Regions from separate parts of the Homo sapiens genome. Here regions 1 and 3 are each linked to region 2. Evidence: promoter capture Hi-C in 16 types of primary human blood cells and fetal thymus (Javierre and others, 2016). All regions are on one chromosome and are shown on one strand. The core of a region is centred on a gene start or on the middle of the fragment in contact, and the rest is flanking DNA. Distances in the headings are between cores, read along the strand shown.

Region 1 (3,236 bases), core at 472-2,971, 280 kb after region 2:
ATCAACACCAAAGCGGAGTTAAGAGGCCACAGTGCTGGCACTGATTCATGGATTAAATTGTACATGACTGCTGCATTGAAGTTTTCATCAAACTGAGAGTATAAATGGGCACAAAATTATTCACATTAACACCCTGAAACACAATGTCGCTGAGCCGTGGCCTGTCCGATCATCAGCAAGTGGAGGATTCCCCTCGCCTGTGTATGTTTTAGAATCTCCAGAGACACATCCACAGTCAATCCTCTTCTTTCTACCTGCTAGTGAAGACAGGCCTTCTATCCCAGCTCACACTCCTAACCTAATTGCCTCAGAAACTTTCTGCGGTCACTGCCAGTGAATCTGAGGTTTAGCATGCTGAAAGTCGGTAAAATGGGAAGGTCACCACTGGCATCTGATAGCCCATTCTACAGAAGTGGGTATGGAATGCCTGCAATAAGGTTGCTCATCAAGATTCAAAATCTTACCTCAGTTACATGATAGAGTTTTCCTCACTGATACAACAGGGGCCCACTGCCTAGGCAACCACGTGGTGACAAGTATGTTACCCAGACGTTGTGTTTCTTGCTGACCTCTAACCCACCCCCTTCTTCAATGCTACCTACAGCCCACAGTGCTTGGCTCACTGCTGCCTCAGACAGAGAGGAAAGTCAGAGTTCTATGGCATGATGAGAGCCATTTCTTCCCTATTAGCACTCAATCGCAGGCTTCCCAGAAAGCACAGCTCTCTTTTAAGTACAAGAGCTCTTTAAATTTACACACACAAAGCCAGTTCTCCCAGGAGAAAGCCCTCACCAGATTGTCTGGTGAAGATAAATTCCACTGTTGGACACTTTGCAGTCCTGGAACCAAGGCTCCCCTTTGTCCCATAGCTCCCCTTGGTGTCAGGGAGCTGCTCACCTGTCTATTTCTACCTTCATGATAAAGTCCCTTTTAAGGGCCGTATTACTTTATCCCACACTCTGGCATTGATTAGTACCATCTCATGGCATCCATATGCTTCAATATATTTGGACCCCAGTGTTAGGAGCAATAGAGTCCTACTCTATTCCTGAACTATAAAATGTTACTATTCAGCCCAGACAGAATGTTTTATTGCAAAACCACCTAGCACAGAAATTGACTATAGACTTTGGAATCAAAAAAGCAAATTTTCAAATCTCAACTCTACCACCTTATTAACTGTGTGTTCAGTAAGTGACACAACCTGAACCTGTTTCTTCATCTACAAAGTACAGATTAAAATGCTTACCTCCTAGGTTTGTAGCAAACAGTACTTCTCAGACCAGCAGCATCAGCATCACCTAGAAATTTATTAGACATGCAGTCTCGGGCCGCTGCTGAATCAGAAACCCTAAGGATGGGTCAAAGCAATTTGCGTTTTAACAAGCCCTCGGGTGATTTGATGCATGCCAAAGTGGGCGAAACACCAGTTGCAAGGATTAAAAGAAATAATGCACATAAGGGCTGGACTCAGTAACTGGCATACAGTAAATACTTAACAATTTCTAACTACTATTTTGTCACTATTACAATTTTTAAAGTAATGAATGAACTACACACTTTTCAGGCAAAGTTTCGTATATATTTCTCATAACAAAGCTTTTCATAGACATTTGGCAGCTGAAGGCTGGAGGTTAAGATCTCAAGAATATGGAGTACAAATCCTTATATTTTAACCAATCATGTAGAAAATGAGTTTAAATTCTTTTCACTAAAAATTGACTGAAATCTATATAGAAAGTCACTCCATTTCTGAAAGAAAAAACAGTACTTGGAGAAAGGGTCAAGATTTTTCTCAGAAAACAGTCAAGGTCTGCTTCTACACATGGAAAAATGGGACAATTGAAGCTTCAATAATGGAGCTTCCAGCCCCATTATTGCCACAGCAACTGCCACATCATAGAATATCACCATGATCATATTCACCTGAAGTTTTTCAAAGCATATGCTTCCAATTGCATGGTGTGATTATAAAACAATTTCTATCATATACTCATAAAATGACCAGCTTTATTTCATGTAACTTCCTGATGAATGCCTCAAGATAAATTTGTGTTATAATAACCCTAGGAAACTAAATGAATTTACCTTCTACCCAGGCTGTTTGAATGTAAATCAATTACATGTTACAGAAGACTGAAATGATAGTGGTTTTATAATCGTCCACAAGCCATTCTTTCTGAGAGCATTTACCTAGCAAGTCCAGTAGAAATTAAATTTGTGGTTGCGTACCTTCAAGCAAATTGTTCACTTAATTTCTCAGCCCCACAGATTTTTTTATCTGTAAAATAAAAGGATTAAACCAGATGATCTCTAAGGTCCATCTAGCTCTTGCTTCCTAACATGTTCTAAACAAGCCAAAGTTGTTCATGTTTTAATAATAACTAATGTTAAACCCACAATTATGAATTAACTTGAACAGCATACACATTTCTACTGGCAGCTCGTTGATGGGGTTGTTTTCTTTATATTTTAGAGTATAAAGCTCTTCAGTCTGAGCTTTCTACAAAAGGCTGAATAACACCTTGTGAGAAATTCTTTAGAAATCCCTCTCTACCTGGACTGACTTAGACCTCAAAAGGACCAACTCTGTGCTCAGACATTCTAGTGAATTCTAATGAGTATATATGAACAGTGGCACTCACAGTCTTAGGCATCATTGGGCTTTTACATCCCCTTGAAAAAGTTGCTAACACTTATTGAGCACTTTATGTGCTTTACCTTCTTTAAACCTGGCAAGAAAGTATACTTTCCCCCATTCTACAGACGAGAAAACAGAATTTAGAAAGCCACACAACTAGAAAAATGGCAAAGAAGTCTCATTGCTTGCCTTCCCAACTCCAAAGCCCAAGCTCTTAATCAGTGTGGAACACAGACACCTATTTTTGGAATGTGCCCCCTACATATGGTCAATGGTCCATTATTTCCTGCACTCTTCCCAGGTTAGTACTTTTCTTGGGGCAGAAAAAGTATTGCTCTTAACATAAAGCAGCTATAAACTGCTGCTTAACCAACTAAAGAAACCTACAAAGGTCATCAAGCCAAGCAGGGAGCTGCCAGTGCCATCACTGCCACAGCTGAAAGTGCAGAGAAATCAGTGTTGGTTTAAGTCAGGGCTTCTCAAAGTGCAGGTCCTGGAATCTGTCAGGGGTGGGACTCTGCCATCTTGTGGTTCAATAAGCTCTCCAGATGATTCTGATGCACATGTTTGAGAGCCACTTGTTTACATATAGCAG
Region 2 (3,546 bases), core at 375-2,874:
CCTTAGGCTCTGTTTTTTAGGGAACCCAGGCAAAGACACATACATTTGGGGTCTGAGATATCTTGGAATCTACATTTTTAAATTTTGTATGAATAATAAATGTATATGTATTTTGATATAAAAGCATATTTTGGATCATCTGGACAACCACATTATAATTGAGCATTTCCACTCTATTTCAGTGTTTCCCTTTTAACTGCTTAAGATTATGCTAGATATAAAGGGTATTCAATTAGGAAAAGAGGAAGTCAAATTGTCCCTGTTTGCAGATGACATGATTGTATATCTAGAAAACCCCATTGTCTCAGCCCAAAATCTCCTTAAGCTGATAAGCAACTTCAGCAAAGTCTCAGGATACAAAATCAATGTACAAAAATCACAAGCATTCTTATACACCAACAACAGACAAACAGAGAGCCAAATCATGAGTGAACTCCCATTCACAATTGCTTCAAAGAGAATAAAATACCTAGGAATCCAACTTACAAGGGACGTGAAGGACCTCTTCAAGGAGAACTACAAACCACTGCTCAAGGAAATAAAAGAGGATACAAACAAATGGAAGAACATTTCATGCTCATGGATAGGAAGAATCAATATCGTGAAAATGGCCATACTGCCCAAGGTAATTTACAGATTCAATGCCATCTCCATCAAGCTACCAATGCCTTTCTTCACAGAATTGGAAAAAACTACTTTAAAGTTCATATGGACAAGATGAAATTAATGCTTATCACCATCTGAAGACCAAATGAATTTATGAACGAAGAGATATTTCAAGTATTTCAATACAAGAAAATGGGGGGCCAATTTGAGGTTCCACCTGAGGTTTGGCAAATTGAAAGAATATACACAGCCACTGACAGCCCATAATTCATGTTCCTAGGGACATTTAGTTTCAGCAAAATAATTTAATGATGTTAATTGGAATTTTATTGACTGGTAGGAGCTATGCAATAGAGAAAGCAGAAATCTGATGAGGAACTTGGAGTATGCTTTGCAAAGTAAGATATACATTTTATCTTTACTCTCCATTATAAAATAGTCAATAATATCTACATCACTTGCTAATGCTTTTGGTACAAATGGATGTGGAATATAATTGAATATTTTCTTGTTTAAGGGGAGCATGAAGAGGTGTTGAGGTTATGTCAAGGTAAACAAAACCACCATTGTGGTAAAGACCACCATGAGGGATAACTGAATATATGGCTTACAAAATGTTTACTGAATAAGCAGAACAGTCTGGATTTTCCTGGGCAGGAGGGGGTTGGGGGCTTTGGGTGGGTTGGTGTCCATGGCTTGGTAAACATTTCCAAGAAGTAAACAAACCTATCAGCGGCCAAGCTGCTTGTCACCTGTGAGTGCTTCCAAGGAACCGGATGTGGGCTCCCCCACCCTTACCCCAGCATCTGGCACAGCTGAAGGCAGATGGAAATATTTACAAGTACGCAATTTGAGACTAAGATATTGTTATCATTCTCCTATTGAAGACAAGAGCAATAGTAAAACACATCAGGTCAGGGGGTTAAAGACCTGTGATAAACCACTTCCGATAAGTTGGAAACGTGTGTCTATATTTTCATATCTGTATATATATAATGGTAAAGAAAGACACCTTCGTAACCCGCATTTTCCAAAGAGAGAAATCACAGGGAGATGTACAGCAATGGGGCCATTTAAGAGTTCTGTGTTCATCTTGATTCTTCACCTTCTAGAAGGGGCCCTGAGTAATTCACTCATTCAGCTGAACAACAATGGCTATGAAGGCATTGTCGTTGCAATCGACCCCAATGTGCCAGAAGATGAAACACTCATTCAACAAATAAAGGTAAGTTCATAGTAATTATCCATACTTTTTTAAAAATAGCATAATGTTGTGATAGAGAGAACATGAGTGCCCTATTCCAGCTGCACGACACTGGCATGTATTTTTATGTCTAAGTCTCAGTTTCTTCATCTGTAAAATGGAAATAATAACAAGTTAACCATTAGGATTCTTGTGTCAGATAAGATAATGAATGCAATGCACATAACTCAGAGTGATATACTGTTGGCAACTGATAAATGATAAATTGATATGTACTGCTGTGGATTATGTCACTGAAAATTATTTAGTTCTATAGTAAGGCAGAGTCAGCTACATTTGACAGATATTGTGAGATGCACAGATCCTTTGCCTGATTTTACCCTTGGCACGAGTCAGACTCTCCTTTTATTCTCCTAATAGGAACCCCCTTCCCTGTGATCCTAAAAGGAGCCCCAGATGCAAATCTCTGATATAAGAACAACCCTGACCTTCTGATGGGAGAAAACCTTGCATTTTATCAGTCCCAATTCAAGGGATCCTTTCAGAGATTTCTTGCTACCTCTTATGTAGCAGAAGGGAAAGGAAGAAGACTTCCTGTCCTGGCAGGGGTATCTATACCATTGAAGAAGGTCTTGTACAACAACAAACAGCTAAAACTAAGAGGGAAATGCTTTATAAAAGACCGCCCTGGAATCTGGCTGTAACACATCCAGAGGCAGTGCTGTACTAGTAACAGTATTAGTCTGTAAAATGGGAATAATAATAATAAATATCTCCCTTATCAGATTTTGTGAGGATCAAAGTTTAAAATGCATGCATATAAAGGGAAGCTGGGTGGAGTATGTAAGAATACGGTGCAATACTTTGCATGTCTTCTGTTCATCTAAATTTATCTCAGAACTTTAAAAAATAACTTTAAAAATGCATGCATAGTGCCTGGTACATAGTAAGAGCTCAATAAATGGTGGATATAGTCATTGGCTCTCTCTAGATGGAAAATTAATAGAACAAGGGCCCAGAGGGATTTCCCCAGAGATCCACTGCTCTAAGCAGAGGCAAATATAGAAAGATAATGTTTGGAAAGAAAACCATCTCTACAGTGTGTGGTTAGAGAATTGCAGCAGTAGGGGATAGGGATAGGGAACAGAGTGGAGGGTGTCACTCACCATAAAGCTTACCTACTTAACCCAAAGAGGATCAGGCTGTCTGTGGTAAAAGGGAGATTCAGACCTCTTGAATCTCTCAATCATCTAAAATGTTGAGTGAGTTTTTGATTGTTTCTAAATTTGGAAGTGGCATCAGCAAACATGTGACCAGTGTGTTTCAGTCTCTGGCTAGACAGTGGGGTTCAGCAATATGCCAGAAGGAGAATGTAGATGCCGTATTCATCTTCAGTGACCGTGGTAATTTGTATCTACAGTATATAGTGACTAGAGCTTTCAAAGTGCTTCTACTTCATTGTCCTTGGAGGTTTTCCTCCCGAGATACGTACTTCTCGCTACAATTATTAAATTGTCTTTCCAGTATGGATCCTAAAGTTGGGGGTGAGATAAGTTGGCTTCCATCATTTCCTTCTCTGTAACAAGAACACTTTAGTGAATAGAATGCTCAAAGTCCCTAACTCCTTCCTATTTGATGTTCCAGATCTGCAGAGTTGAGGGACCTCGTTGAGGGCTTGGCCACCTTTCCCAACCATTCCTCCCTCTACTCCAACAACCTTCTTGCTGATGAGAGAC
Region 3 (3,320 bases), core at 144-2,643, 260 kb after region 2:
TTTCTCTCTGAACTTCTAGCATGAAAAGGGGCAGAGCAACACAGAAGAGAATACAGGTTGAACAAAAAAACTAGAATGTCTTCCTCTTTGGCATAAAGATATGCCAGAAAATTTCTGACTTGATTTTGCAGTCTCAGCAAGTTTAGGAAATAATTGATACAATACATGGGAAGAAACTCATGAAACATATTATATACATATATATAAAAATCTAAAGAAACCTATCAAAATGGATTTCAGGGGTTTTTTTCTTCTACATATCTCACTTCTGACATTTTTATAATTAAAAATGTATAAATGACCAGGAGCAGTGGCTCACACCTGTAATCCCAGCACTTTGGAAGGCCGAGGTGGGCAGATCACCTGAGGTCAGGAGTTCAAAACCAGCCTGACCAGCATGGTGAAACCCTGTCTCTACTAAAAATACAAAATTAGCCAGGCATGGTGTCCCAGCTACTTGGGAGGCTGAGGCAGGAGAATCCCTTGAATTTGGGAGGTGGAGTTTGCAGTCAGCCAGGATCAGCCGTTGCACTCCAAGCTAGGCAACAAGAGCAAAACTCCATCTCAAAAAATAAATAAATGAAAATGTATAAATGTTAAGACTTTACATTCCTGGAGTATTTTAAGATTTTAAGCCATATGAATAGTAGTCAACACTGATCAAGATAGTCACAGCAAATGCCTCAGAAGCATTACCAAAATTTAGGGCTTACAGATACCCAATCTTGATATCGTGGGCCAACAGATTCTTGCCCATCTTCCAGTTACATTTTAGAAAAAACTCTTCTGGCTTACCTAACCTATGTTATGCTATCATGTAGTCTAGTAGCAGTTACTTTTAGCAGTAGAAGGTCTTCTCCCTAGAGATTTTTTAGACGACAGAATATCAGCCCTTTCTTATCTATCTTTCTAATGTGGATCATTTTCTTCCGAAGTAAATTGATTATGCTAAGCCTAATTTAAATTCCTTTAGCCTCTCAGATCAGTTATTATGATCAATTATATATGCCAGAAGTATAGATGATTTGGGACATTTGACTGTTTGAAGCCACCCAATATGCACTAAAACTTGTTCAAGAAATGAGATGCATTTTTCCCTATCATCTACCCTCTCTAAAGTCTAGATTGTACAGAAGGACCTCCTAAGCTTTGTAACATGGTGCCTTTCTTCATGATTAAATTTTACTCAAACCTAGAAGCCTGATCCCTCATCCTTAATGAGATCATTTGATATTTTTTATTCAGTGTACTTAGCATTAAAATATTATTTCTACTTCAGTCTCAATCTTCCCGGTCACCTTAATCTGCTACCTAGTTTACTTGCTTATTACCTTACCTAGAAATAATGTCAGTTAGTAGGATTTTTCTGCCATTTCTACTAAAGGCCATTAAATTAAACCGTACTTTGACAATCAAAGACCTATATGGAACTAACCTAGTTTATTTCTGAAGTGCATTTATTTTTGGTTTGCTGTATTTACTTCTGTTACTCAAAGCCTTTTGTATTCAACCAAGCAGAACAGTTAATAGTGCATATGTAATATTGATGTGATTGGTTTTCCTTAGTGCTCTCCTTAGGAAGAACATTGCTTCTTTTTTTCTTCTGGGACTTTTTTCTACTTCATACCAGCTTCCAGATGAAGCTTACTTTGTCCCTGCTATCAAAACACCATGGGTTCTGGTTTTAGTCAAGTAAATTTAATTTCAACTTCTGACTTACTAATTCAAGCTTATTTCCGTAAGTCCAAGCTAGAGGTCAATTATTAGTCCCCTCTGCTAGGTTTGTTGCCAGTGGGCTGTTACAGCAACTGATTATCTACTTTGCTGCTACTTCCTTGTAGACTGGTTTACTAGGGTAACTATTGCCACCAAAGGATGAGGAGAGGGAGATGAGGCCTGAAAGAAAAAAGTTCATACCTTGTTGGGTTTTTTTTGTTTTTCGTTTTTTTTACTTTTATTACATCTTGGAAATGTCATGAATCATTTGCATAGGTGGAAAATGCTATTTGTGCTGGAGAGGTAGTCAAACCTATCATTATAATGATGATGTAACCAATGATAATTCCCAATGGGAGAAAAGCTAACTATTCTGAGTAAGCTGTGAGGTTTTATTTCTCTTTCCCACTTATTAACAACCAACTCTGACTAAAGGTTTGAGAAGATGTTTTTTGCCACTATTTGCTATTTTTAGATCTTGTTGATTTTTCAGTGAACTGTTTTGTCGCAGCAGTAAGCCTCCTTTATCAGATGGTTGAAACCAGTAGTGGCATACTGTTATTTACATCTCTTCCCAGCTCCACAGTGTGTGACTTCACGTTAGTAGCTGGAAATCAGCTGTGGTGGGAGTATTTATATCATGAAAATCTGGATATGAGAGCTTTTTTTTTTATTTCTTGGGGAAGAATTTAACAGCACACTACTGATTGAAGTTCGATCATAACTTAAAAAGCTTTTTAAAACCCTAGTGTATCTTAATAGATAGTATTCTGCTTAAGACATTTTTTATGCATAGTTTGAAAAGAAAATTTGAAAGAAAGACATTTAAAATGTAGGACAAAGAATCCTTTGAATGAACCTAAAAACTGGTGCTAGCAACAAGTGTTTGGCAACTAAACGCAAGGTGAAAATCCTATGGCTTCACTCTAAAGTCTTTTGCATTTGAGACTGAAGACTCTTTAACTTCAAAGTAAAAACTGTAGTAATAATTGAGAATTTTTGCAGCAATATTACTTTATACTTGTAAAACTGGTCATCTTAAAATTTTGTAAAATAGTAAAATTTAGCAAAATTGATACTAGAAAATTTATGAAAATATCTTGGCTTTCTCTTAGTAGTTTTTGTAGGCTCTTAAGAGTGTATCATTAAGCTTTAGCGTAACAGATTCTTTTCAATCAAGTACTGGAATCAGTTGTCCAGGTGGAGTAATACAGAAAAGCTAAGGTCTAGAAACCAGGGGACCATTTTAGATACAAAGCAGAATTGCGGAATTGCCAGATTATAACTTGAGGTTTGTTCGGGGGATTTTTTTTAACCATCTAAAATAAATGTATATAAGATGGACTGAGTCTTCTAAAGAGATTCTAAAACTATATTCTTACTTAAGTCTGAACAGGAATTAAGAATAACTCAAAGTGAATTTGATCGTCAAGCAGAGATTACCAGACTTCTGCTAGAGGGAATCAGCAGTACACATGTGAGTATTCATTCATTGGAAATTCATTTGGAACAAGACTTTGGTAGTCCTAAGGCAATTTTGGGAGGAAAAACTGAACTTTTCAGTCATTCATCAAGGAAATTTAAATTGTTCTACTTTCCAATAT

Evidence for each region. The method cuts DNA at HindIII sites, captures the fragments that hold promoters and counts their contacts. A CHiCAGO score of 5 or more calls a contact.
Region 1: a fragment that was not itself captured here is called in contact with the fragment with the promoter of CLCA1 in region 2 in 4 of 17 cell types (naive CD4 T cells, activated CD4 T cells, total CD4 T cells and 1 more); the score reaches 8.1 in naive CD4 T cells.
Region 3: a contact is called between a fragment that was not itself captured here and the fragment with the promoter of CLCA1 in region 2, in 2 of 17 cell types (naive CD4 T cells and naive CD8 T cells). The highest score is 6.5, in naive CD4 T cells.

The regions. Positions count from the first base shown.
Region 1 is chr1:86,750,726-86,753,961 of GRCh38, forward strand. No RefSeq gene overlaps it. Among named protein-coding and RNA genes, the nearest start is that of SH3GLB1, 48 kb to the left of the region's middle. RefSeq lists an enhancer at 3,084-3,143. The HindIII fragment of the contact is 249 bases long and covers 1,598-1,846 here.
Region 2 is chr1:86,467,303-86,470,848 of GRCh38, forward strand. CLCA1 (chloride channel accessory 1) reads left to right here and starts at 1,625. Exons shown (of 14, transcript NM_001285.4): 1 at 1,625-1,831. The coding sequence starts at 1,670. The HindIII fragment of the contact is 8,280 bases long and covers 1-2,981 here.
Region 3 is chr1:86,731,499-86,734,818 of GRCh38, forward strand. It overlaps SH3GLB1 (SH3 domain containing GRB2 like, endophilin B1), which reads left to right. Exons shown (of 9, transcript NM_016009.5): 6 at 3,104-3,193. Among named protein-coding and RNA genes, the nearest start is that of SH3GLB1, 29 kb to the left of the region's middle. The HindIII fragment of the contact is 496 bases long and covers 1,146-1,641 here.